Regions from separate parts of the Homo sapiens genome. Here regions 1 and 2 are each linked to region 3. Evidence: promoter capture Hi-C in 16 types of primary human blood cells and fetal thymus (Javierre and others, 2016). All regions are on one chromosome and are shown on one strand. The core of a region is centred on a gene start or on the middle of the fragment in contact, and the rest is flanking DNA. Distances in the headings are between cores, read along the strand shown. Region 1 has its middle 39 kb from the start of PAPSS1. Region 2 has its middle 19 kb from the start of PAPSS1. Region 3 holds the start of HADH (hydroxyacyl-CoA dehydrogenase).

Region 1 (2,700 bases), core at 186-2,685, 230 kb after region 3:
TTGATTCCGGGCCTGTAGTTGACTGGACGTCAGGAAAGCAGTAATGATTCCAGGAAATTCCTAGCTAGATAGTGCAAATTTTGTTGGCCCAGTTTGGGAATATTGAATGGGGCAATTACTGAGCAAGCGGGATTCGAACTCCACTTCTCCTGTGGATTTTGTGCTAGTTTGCTGCCTGGCTGCCCTATCTATTATGTACCCTATTCCATCCCCCAACCTCAGAACAAAAGCAATATTCCTCCTCCCTATCTGTTCTACATGTAGGATAGAGTGGTGGATGGGAGCGAAACATCCATTTTATAGTTTTAGAATTTATGTTATCCTGGATATATTTCCATAAGGTTATACTATATTTAAGTATTTGTATATATTTTCTCTCTCCTTCCATTATAATCTAGGCTTCAAAAAGGTAAGGATTTTTATGTTTTCTTCCCAGTGAGTAGAAGAGTCCCTAGCCTGCAGACACTCAAAAATAGTTGTTGAATAAGATGAGTGAATGAATATTGAAATCTTCCATTATATGGTAGAGTTGTCCATTTCTTCCTGTAATTCTATCAATTATTGCTTTATATTTTTAAGGCTCTTTTATCAAGCACATACAAAACTGAAATCATTAAAGCTTCTTGGTGAACTTAGTTTTCCTTAATAATGTTTTGGGGTGATTTGTTTTTGTTTTTATATTTTTGGTCATAAACTTGTTTCAATACTAATATTCCATCAAGATTTCTTTTGGTTAATATCTGTCAGGTATATCTTTTTACTAACTTTTTACTATGTCCTTATGTTTTATGTCCCCGTATTCTAAACAGTATTTAGCTGGATTTTTTAAATACAACTGGACAATCAACCATTTAATAGTGAGTTAAGTTTATTTATGATTGTGAATATTATTGATGCTCAGTTTATTTCTAAATACCTTTAAAACCTGTTTAATCTGTTTATTGATTAAAAAATTAAACAGTTACATTTCTAGAAGATCCTTCTGTTTCTTTTTCTAATAATATTTCTGTAGCCTTTTTTGTCTACTTATCTTTATAGTTCTGTTGTTTATTTTTTTAAACATTCTATACCCAATCCACCACTGGAATAAAATTATAATATTTATACTATGTAATATTTATACAATGCTAATATAACTGGTACATATATTAGGTAAACACATATATGCCAGGTATTCTTACAAAATTAATAATATATTCTCTTTAACTCAGTGTATTCAAAATATCATCATGCCAACCAGGTACTTTTTCTTTTTTTAAGACGGAGTCTCGCTCTGTCGCTGGAGTGCAGTGGCGCAATCTTGGCTCACTGCAACCTCCACCTCCCAGGTTCAAGTGATTCTCCTGCCTCAGCCTCCCAAGTAGCTGGGATTACAGGTGCCAACCACCACACCCAGCTAATTTTTGTATTTTTTAGTGGAGACAGGGTTTCACCATGTTGGCCGTGATGGTCTCGATCTCTTGACCTTGTGATATGCCCACCTCGGCCTCCCAAAGTGCTAGGATTACAGGCGTGAGCCACCATGCCCAGCCCAGGTACCCTTTTTTAAACTTTACATGGATTAACATATTTAATCCTCATTTTGCTAACTAGTCCTGTTTTACAGATTAGGAAACTGTAGTGGAGAGAAGTAAAAAAATTGGACCAAGTCCAGATAGATAGGTAGAATTCTGAGCTGGGATTTGAACTCAGGCTGTTACTACAATATTTTGAATATTCAGTCTGATAATGGGGAGGGGAAGACAGCAAACATTGTTTTTATTTTTGCTAAACTTAAAGGCAAAAGAGCATTTGATTCTTGCTTTGTAAAACTGCTAGTGATTTTTAACCTTTTCATGTGGTAATTAGCTTTTTGCATGTCTTCTTTATCGTTCCTATTCTTTGTCCATTTTGGTCTTGGAGTCCTAAGTGATGTTTTGTATTAAAAGCTCCTTAGTGTAAAATATATTTTTATAATAAGGTATATTTTTATTTAAAGAATTTTACATTTTTACCAGGAATGAAATCCCAGTTCACATTTTCACTTCCTAAGGAAAATTAGAAGATTTGCAAAACAATTACTTTTTCGTAGAAACTACACCCCTACTCTTCCTCATCCTCATGACAGGAAATTCTCACCTGTTATTTTTAGTCTCTGAGCTCAAATTTCCATAAGAAAACACATGAGGAAAGGAAAAAGTATGTATACCTCTGTTATATATATTATATAAAATATCATCTCTAGCTCTCTGTAAAATTAAATAAAAGCTTATTATTTCAAAGAACTAAACTACTGAAAATACCTTAAACAGAATATGGCACAATTAATAAATAGATACAGCTTAGATTTGTTATTTTAAGGAAAAAATAAAATTAGAAAATATTTTAGAACGATTATATAAGATATAAAAAGGGATTATATAAGATATAAAAAAGAAATGCTTTATTTTTAAGAATTAAACACCATACAGTTCCTTTATGGAGAGATCTAAAAGCTTATCTGATGTTTAAAAACTAGAAGGAAAAAATGTTTAAGAAACTAAAGAACTATATACTCCTATTTGGAGGCTCTCAGCATTTGCCATCTATCAGACTAGATTTTAGAACAGCAAAATTTAAAAATGTTGCCATCTAGTGTTCACCTTTAGAATTATTCCCATAAAATTCGTGTAATATAAAAAGGTTACTTCAAAATATAACTGGATCTTGACTCTTTAAAAT
Region 2 (2,700 bases), core at 94-2,593, 250 kb after region 3:
TTCCCCCTTGAGCTGCAGTAAGGATGTCCAAGGCCATTCGGTTTTATAGAATAGCCTTCCGCATGTGACACATTTCAGTATTTATTAGAGAGATGCTCTGGAGGCTGTCATTCAGAGCCCTTTTGGTAAAGTTAGCTAGGGCTTCTATGTGCCATATGACAGTTCCTAGCCCTACTGAGGGCATGAATATTGCAGCTAGATGATCATACTAATGAAAGACTGACCTAGTCCACCTATTAATCATATGTGGACAACAGGCTGGATTTTTTTTTTTTTTTTTTTTTTTACCCAGCAACCTTGTGCTATGGGAGGCCTAGAGTCCAGCGTCCTAGCCAGCCCACAGGGAGCCACAGCCACAAATTGGTGCCACAAAGCCATTGAGTCCTGTTGGGAGCATACTGGGCCATTGCTCCCAATCTTTAGGCCGGGCCGTTGAGACCAATCTGTGGCAAATACATCCCTTTGCTGGAGTGCTATAATATGTTGGCACCGATCTGGGAGAATCCATCCCATAACCCATGTGGCATTGGGTCAGTGGTCAAGGGAGTGGTTTCATTGTTCCCAACACAAGGGGGCTAGTTGACTCAAGTGCCCAGTAGAGGTGGTTAACCATATGAGCCCAACCCAAATTTGGAGAAAGCCACTCTGGTATCAAACATTTTGGGGTTTAAAAGTTTGGATGGGCACTTTTGGTTCTAACAAGGGAGTAGCTAGTGCTATAACTTCGTCTCTTGTTATGTTAATCAAGAATGGCTTTTCATGTCATTTAAAGGGTCATTTAAAGTTGTTTATGGGCCATTCTGACACATTTGCCCTAGTCACTCCCATCATTTGTGACCCAGTCCAGTGTTTTAAATCCGGGAAGACTTGTAAATGTCTCTAATATTTCCCTTGCATAGGTGAGACCCACCACAGTAAACTGTGGTGCTAGAAAGGGGTAACAGGCCACAGACCCAACAGGAATCCTGCTGGAGGCTGTCTGCATAGTCCTGTGCCCATTGTAGAAAGAGGTTAGCAGTGTGTGCGGAAACAATATTAGGTATAAAGAGAAAGAATAGGATAAAAGAAATTCTTATCGTTTTCTGAATAGAAACTTTAGGTCCTCTAGGGGCTCTGCCTCCCATTGAGTGGCTACAGGTGTTTCTGTGGTGGAGTTCTTGGGCGACTGGAATTTCTTTACCCACATATGATGAACCCAAGGTTTGATGCCTGCTAGTTTCAGTGCTGAGTCGGTAGTCAACAGCCCATCATAGGGCTCTTTCTATTTCTCTTGTAGTTGTTGGGCAGGACCAGCTTCCTTCCATTCTTTCTGCAGCACTTGATCTCCAGACTGGAACGGGTGGTGGGCTTCCACGGAGTCTATGACGTTTCTGTTAGAAGAAAATTTATGCAAGGGATTAAGAGTTTGTTCCAAGTGAGTGGCATAAGTTTTAATAGCTAGTTCCTTGTCTGGAGACATTCTAGCCACCTGGGACAAGTTGGCTACAAAAGGCCTCCTGAAAATGATTTCACAGGGACTTCATTTGATCCCACTTCTGGGAGCTATTCTTACCTGGAGCAGAGGAATCCCAAGCAACTGAAGCCACTTTAGCCGTGTTTCCTGACATAGCTTGGCGAGGGTTGTTTTTAAGGTATGATTTATTCTTTCAGTTTGTCTGGAGGACTGAGGCCTCCAGGCTGTGTGTAGCTTCCATTTTATCCCTAGCACTTTTCTTACTTGTTGGGCGATTTCCTATGTGAATGAAGGTCCATTGTCACTCTGGATAATGTCAGGAAACCCATATCGAGGAATGATTTCCTTTAGCAGTACCTTAACTACCTCCATTGCCCACTCAGAGCAGCATGGGTATGCCTCTACCCAGCCTGAGAAGGTGTCCACCAGAACTAGGAGATATTTGTACCCTCCTGGGGCAGGTAGCATTTGAGTAAAGTCAATTTGCCAATTCTCTAGTGGTTGTTTCCCTCTCCCTTGCTGTCCAGGCTGTCCTGTATTATGGTTGTTGGGCTCATTTTTAGTGCAAAAGTGGCATCGTAGGATTATACTTTCTAAATGGGCCCTCATTCCTTTTCGTATACTTCTATATGAAAGTTAATGAGGCATCTTGCCCAAAAGTTGTGCCATCATGAATATATTTTAGTATTGGGTGAAGGAAAGACCCATGTCCTGGGTCATTGAAAGTTGTGCAGCCATTCTGACACATTTGCCTTAGTCACTCCCATCATTTGTGAGCCGGTCCAGTGTTTTAAATCCAGGAAGACTTGTAAATGTCTCCAATCTTTCCCTTGCATAGGTGAGACCCACCACGGTGGTGCTAGAAAGGGGTAACAGGCCACAGACCTAACAGGAATCATGCTGGAGGCTGTCTGCATAGTCCTGTGCCCATTGTAGAAGGAGGTTAGCAGTGGATGCAGAAACAATACTAGGTGTAAACAGAAAGAATAGGATAAAAGAAATTTTATCTCTGACACCCAGATTAGGCCTTTGTCATTCAATTTCCAGTCATTTTTCATCCTGAATAAACCCTTTGTCCTTGGTAGCCTTTTCGTCCTCAAGACTGTACCTAGGTTTGAAGGCTGCCAAATCTATTTGGGGAATTAAAGGAACCCGGAGTTCAACATTGGAGCTGGCTAGGTGCCTGGCTGTGCAATCTAAGAAAGCATTTCCCCTAGCTACTTCAGAATTGTTGCACTGATGGCCTG
Region 3 (2,700 bases), core at 6-2,505:
CAGTAGCCAGGTAATCAATCACTCGCACAACTGAGCCTGAACCACAGCTCAGCAGAACAATGGAAAAGCCCTGAAGATGTACAATGGATAAAAGACTTGTTCCGGCTGGGTGCAGTGGCTAACGCCTGTAATCCCAGCACTTCGGGAGGCCAGGCGGGCGGATCACCTTTGGTCAGGAGTTCGAGATCAGCCTGACCCACAAGGTGAAACCCTGTCTCTACTAAAAATATAAAATTAGCCGGGCGGGGCGCCTGTAATCCCAGCTACTCGGGAGGCTGAGGCAGGAGAATCGCTTGAACCCGGGAGGCGGAGGTTGCAGTGAACCGAGATCGCGCCATTGCACTCCACTCCAGCCTGGGTCAAAGAGACTCCGACTCAAAAAAAAAAAAAAAAAAAAAAAGAGAGAGACTTATTCCGCTGCAGCGCCAAAATCGCAAGCTCAGAACTCTGCACAGACGGCACTATTTCAAAGGTCAAAACCAGGACCTCAGCAATCTTCCATTAGGTGACTTTACAAAGTGCTACAAAAGTCATGACTACTACTATTCTTTACAACCTAGCAAGCGAAGGAAAGACCGGGGAGAGCCGGGAGGCCGTTTAGGAGAGAAAACTACTTTGACAAAGACTGCACAATTACAGAATAAAAATCAAAAATAACTGATAGAATTAAAACTGATCGCAGTTCATGTCTTTGGCAGCAAACTCCCGTTTGAGCCGAGCAGGAACAAACGCGTTATGCCTGAACCTTGTGCACATACAATTCTTTCTTCTCTTGCACGGCCCGCTTCCAAAATGCATTCACCGCCACTCTCCATGGAACCTTCAGCGGGCCCTGGGGGCAGCCAGAATTTTCCAAACGAGGAAGCTGAGGATCGGCCCAGAACCCTGAATTTTGAGGGGAGTGAGACTTGGGCCCTCACAGGCCCAGACGCGAGATATTTCAACTACACCCGGGAGGCGCGGGGTGAAAACTCCCTGGTGTCGGGCGGGTGCAGGCCCCTCGCGGCCGGTCGCGCCAGAGCTTCCACCTCAGGGTGGGCGGCCAAGCGCGTGGGCACGCTGCAGGGAGGGCCGCTCACCTGGGCAATGCCGGCGCCCATCAGCCCGCCGCCGATGACCGTCACGTGCTTGACGATTATCTTCTTGGCCGAGGCCGAGGCGGTGGACGAGGAGGACACGGAACGCATGAACTGCCTGGTGACGAAGGCCATGGTGTGGCAGCGGCGGCGACAGCGAGGAGACCCGGGCAGGGAAGACGCGCGAGGCGGGCAGCCGCGGAAAGCCAGACTCTGGGGGCGGGGACCTACGCGGCCCTGCAGCCCGCGCGCCCCCGGCGTCCCCGTGACGCCACAAGGCGGGGGCGGGGCCTCGAGTCCCGCTCTGCCCATTGGCCCTGGCTGTAACGTCCCAGCGTTGAGCGGGTATACACGCGCGGGCTCGCAGCTGTCAGCAGCCGGAGCCCGAGTGAGCGCGGGCTTGAGACCTGCTGAGCAGCGGGACCTGGCGGCTGGCGTTCTGGTGTGGGGCCGAGAACAGACCCTTCTTCTGAAAAGCCACTGGCCCCTTGTTCTATGAAGTGAGTGGTGTTGACTCTGTAAAATGCTATCCTTTGATGACATGTGCATATCTAGGCTCTGAAGAAATATGTGCTGCTTGGCTGTGTTGGTAATGGACCCAAAATGTGCACCGTTGGTTGATGTCACCAAATAATCAACTCGGGATTATTTTAATCCCGTGGACAGTGATTGTTTCCCCTAAAAGGGAAATAAATGTAGACTGCGAACACCCAAAACAAATGTCTAGTGACCATGAGTTACAATGCAAAAATCAGGCTCAGGGAAGGTAAAGAGAGAGTTGACCTTTAGTTACCCATCTTGACGTTGGACGTCTATCAGTGCAGTGAACATGTGGACGGTTTAAGGTCATAGAGCAACCTTTCTGGAATAACGAATACTATTAGAAAGCATAGGAAAGAAATGTCTTGTCAAATAATGGAAGACTGGATAGCAGCTTGGCCAATCTTCTCACTCAGGTGAATACTTTCTAATTACTGTAACTTAGTGATATAGGATTCTTATTAATTTATTTGCTTTATGTTTAAATATTGTTAACAAAAAAACTTCAAACAAGTTTAGCAGAGTTTATCTGAGCAAAGAAAGCATGAATCATGTAGTATCCTGAGCCAGTAAAGGTTCAGAGAGCTCCAGCCCCTAACAGTGGGCAAGCCGCGTTTATAGACAATATTTTTTGCAGCCTGTAATGGGCTAAAAGCTCCGCTGCGGTGATTGGCCAAGACTTGGCCACTTGTTAGAAGAACGTACTCTCAAATTACATTGCAGTTTATTTACATATTAGGTTTGATTATGCTTTGCTAGGTAGGGAGGCAACTTTAGGCCAGATTTAATTTAATAACAGTTTCCTCCTTTGGGTCAGCCTCTCAGTTTTACGAGATTGACCAGAACCTTGTTTTGTCTCAGTATGGAAGTCACAATGTCAAATTAGTTGAGTGATTATACTTTCTTCATGTTGTTATTCTAACTGTAATAACACCATTTGGTGTACAAAGGATGGCTGCATAGAGACATTGAAGACTCTCGAGGGGACAACAACACATCAGGGAGACTATTATGGCCACGAGAAGGAGTATAGCAATAAACTGAGGTACACACCTTAACAGGAGTCTCCACAAACTGAACTGAT

The links. Contacts are between HindIII fragments. The CHiCAGO score rates a contact against its expected background, and 5 or more counts as called.
Region 1: a contact is called between a fragment that was not itself captured here and the fragment with the promoter of HADH in region 3, in 2 of 17 cell types (monocytes and M2 macrophages). The highest score is 5.4, in monocytes.
Region 2: a fragment that was not itself captured here is called in contact with the fragment with the promoter of HADH in region 3 in 1 of 17 cell types (neutrophils); the score reaches 5.2 in neutrophils.

Annotation. Positions count from the first base shown.
Region 1 is chr4:107,757,991-107,760,690 of GRCh38, reverse strand. No RefSeq gene overlaps it. Among named protein-coding and RNA genes, the nearest start is that of PAPSS1, 39 kb to the right of the region's middle. The HindIII fragment of the contact is 1,628 bases long and covers 622-2,249 here.
Region 2 is chr4:107,737,641-107,740,340 of GRCh38, reverse strand. No RefSeq gene overlaps it. Among named protein-coding and RNA genes, the nearest start is that of PAPSS1, 19 kb to the right of the region's middle. The HindIII fragment of the contact is 7,745 bases long and covers 1-2,700 here.
Region 3 is chr4:107,988,444-107,991,143 of GRCh38, reverse strand. It overlaps HADH (hydroxyacyl-CoA dehydrogenase), which reads right to left and starts at 1,255. Exons shown (of 8, transcript NM_005327.7): 1 at 1,080-1,255. The coding sequence starts at 1,211. RefSeq lists a silencer at 1,259-1,488. The HindIII fragment of the contact is 11,946 bases long and covers 1-2,700 here.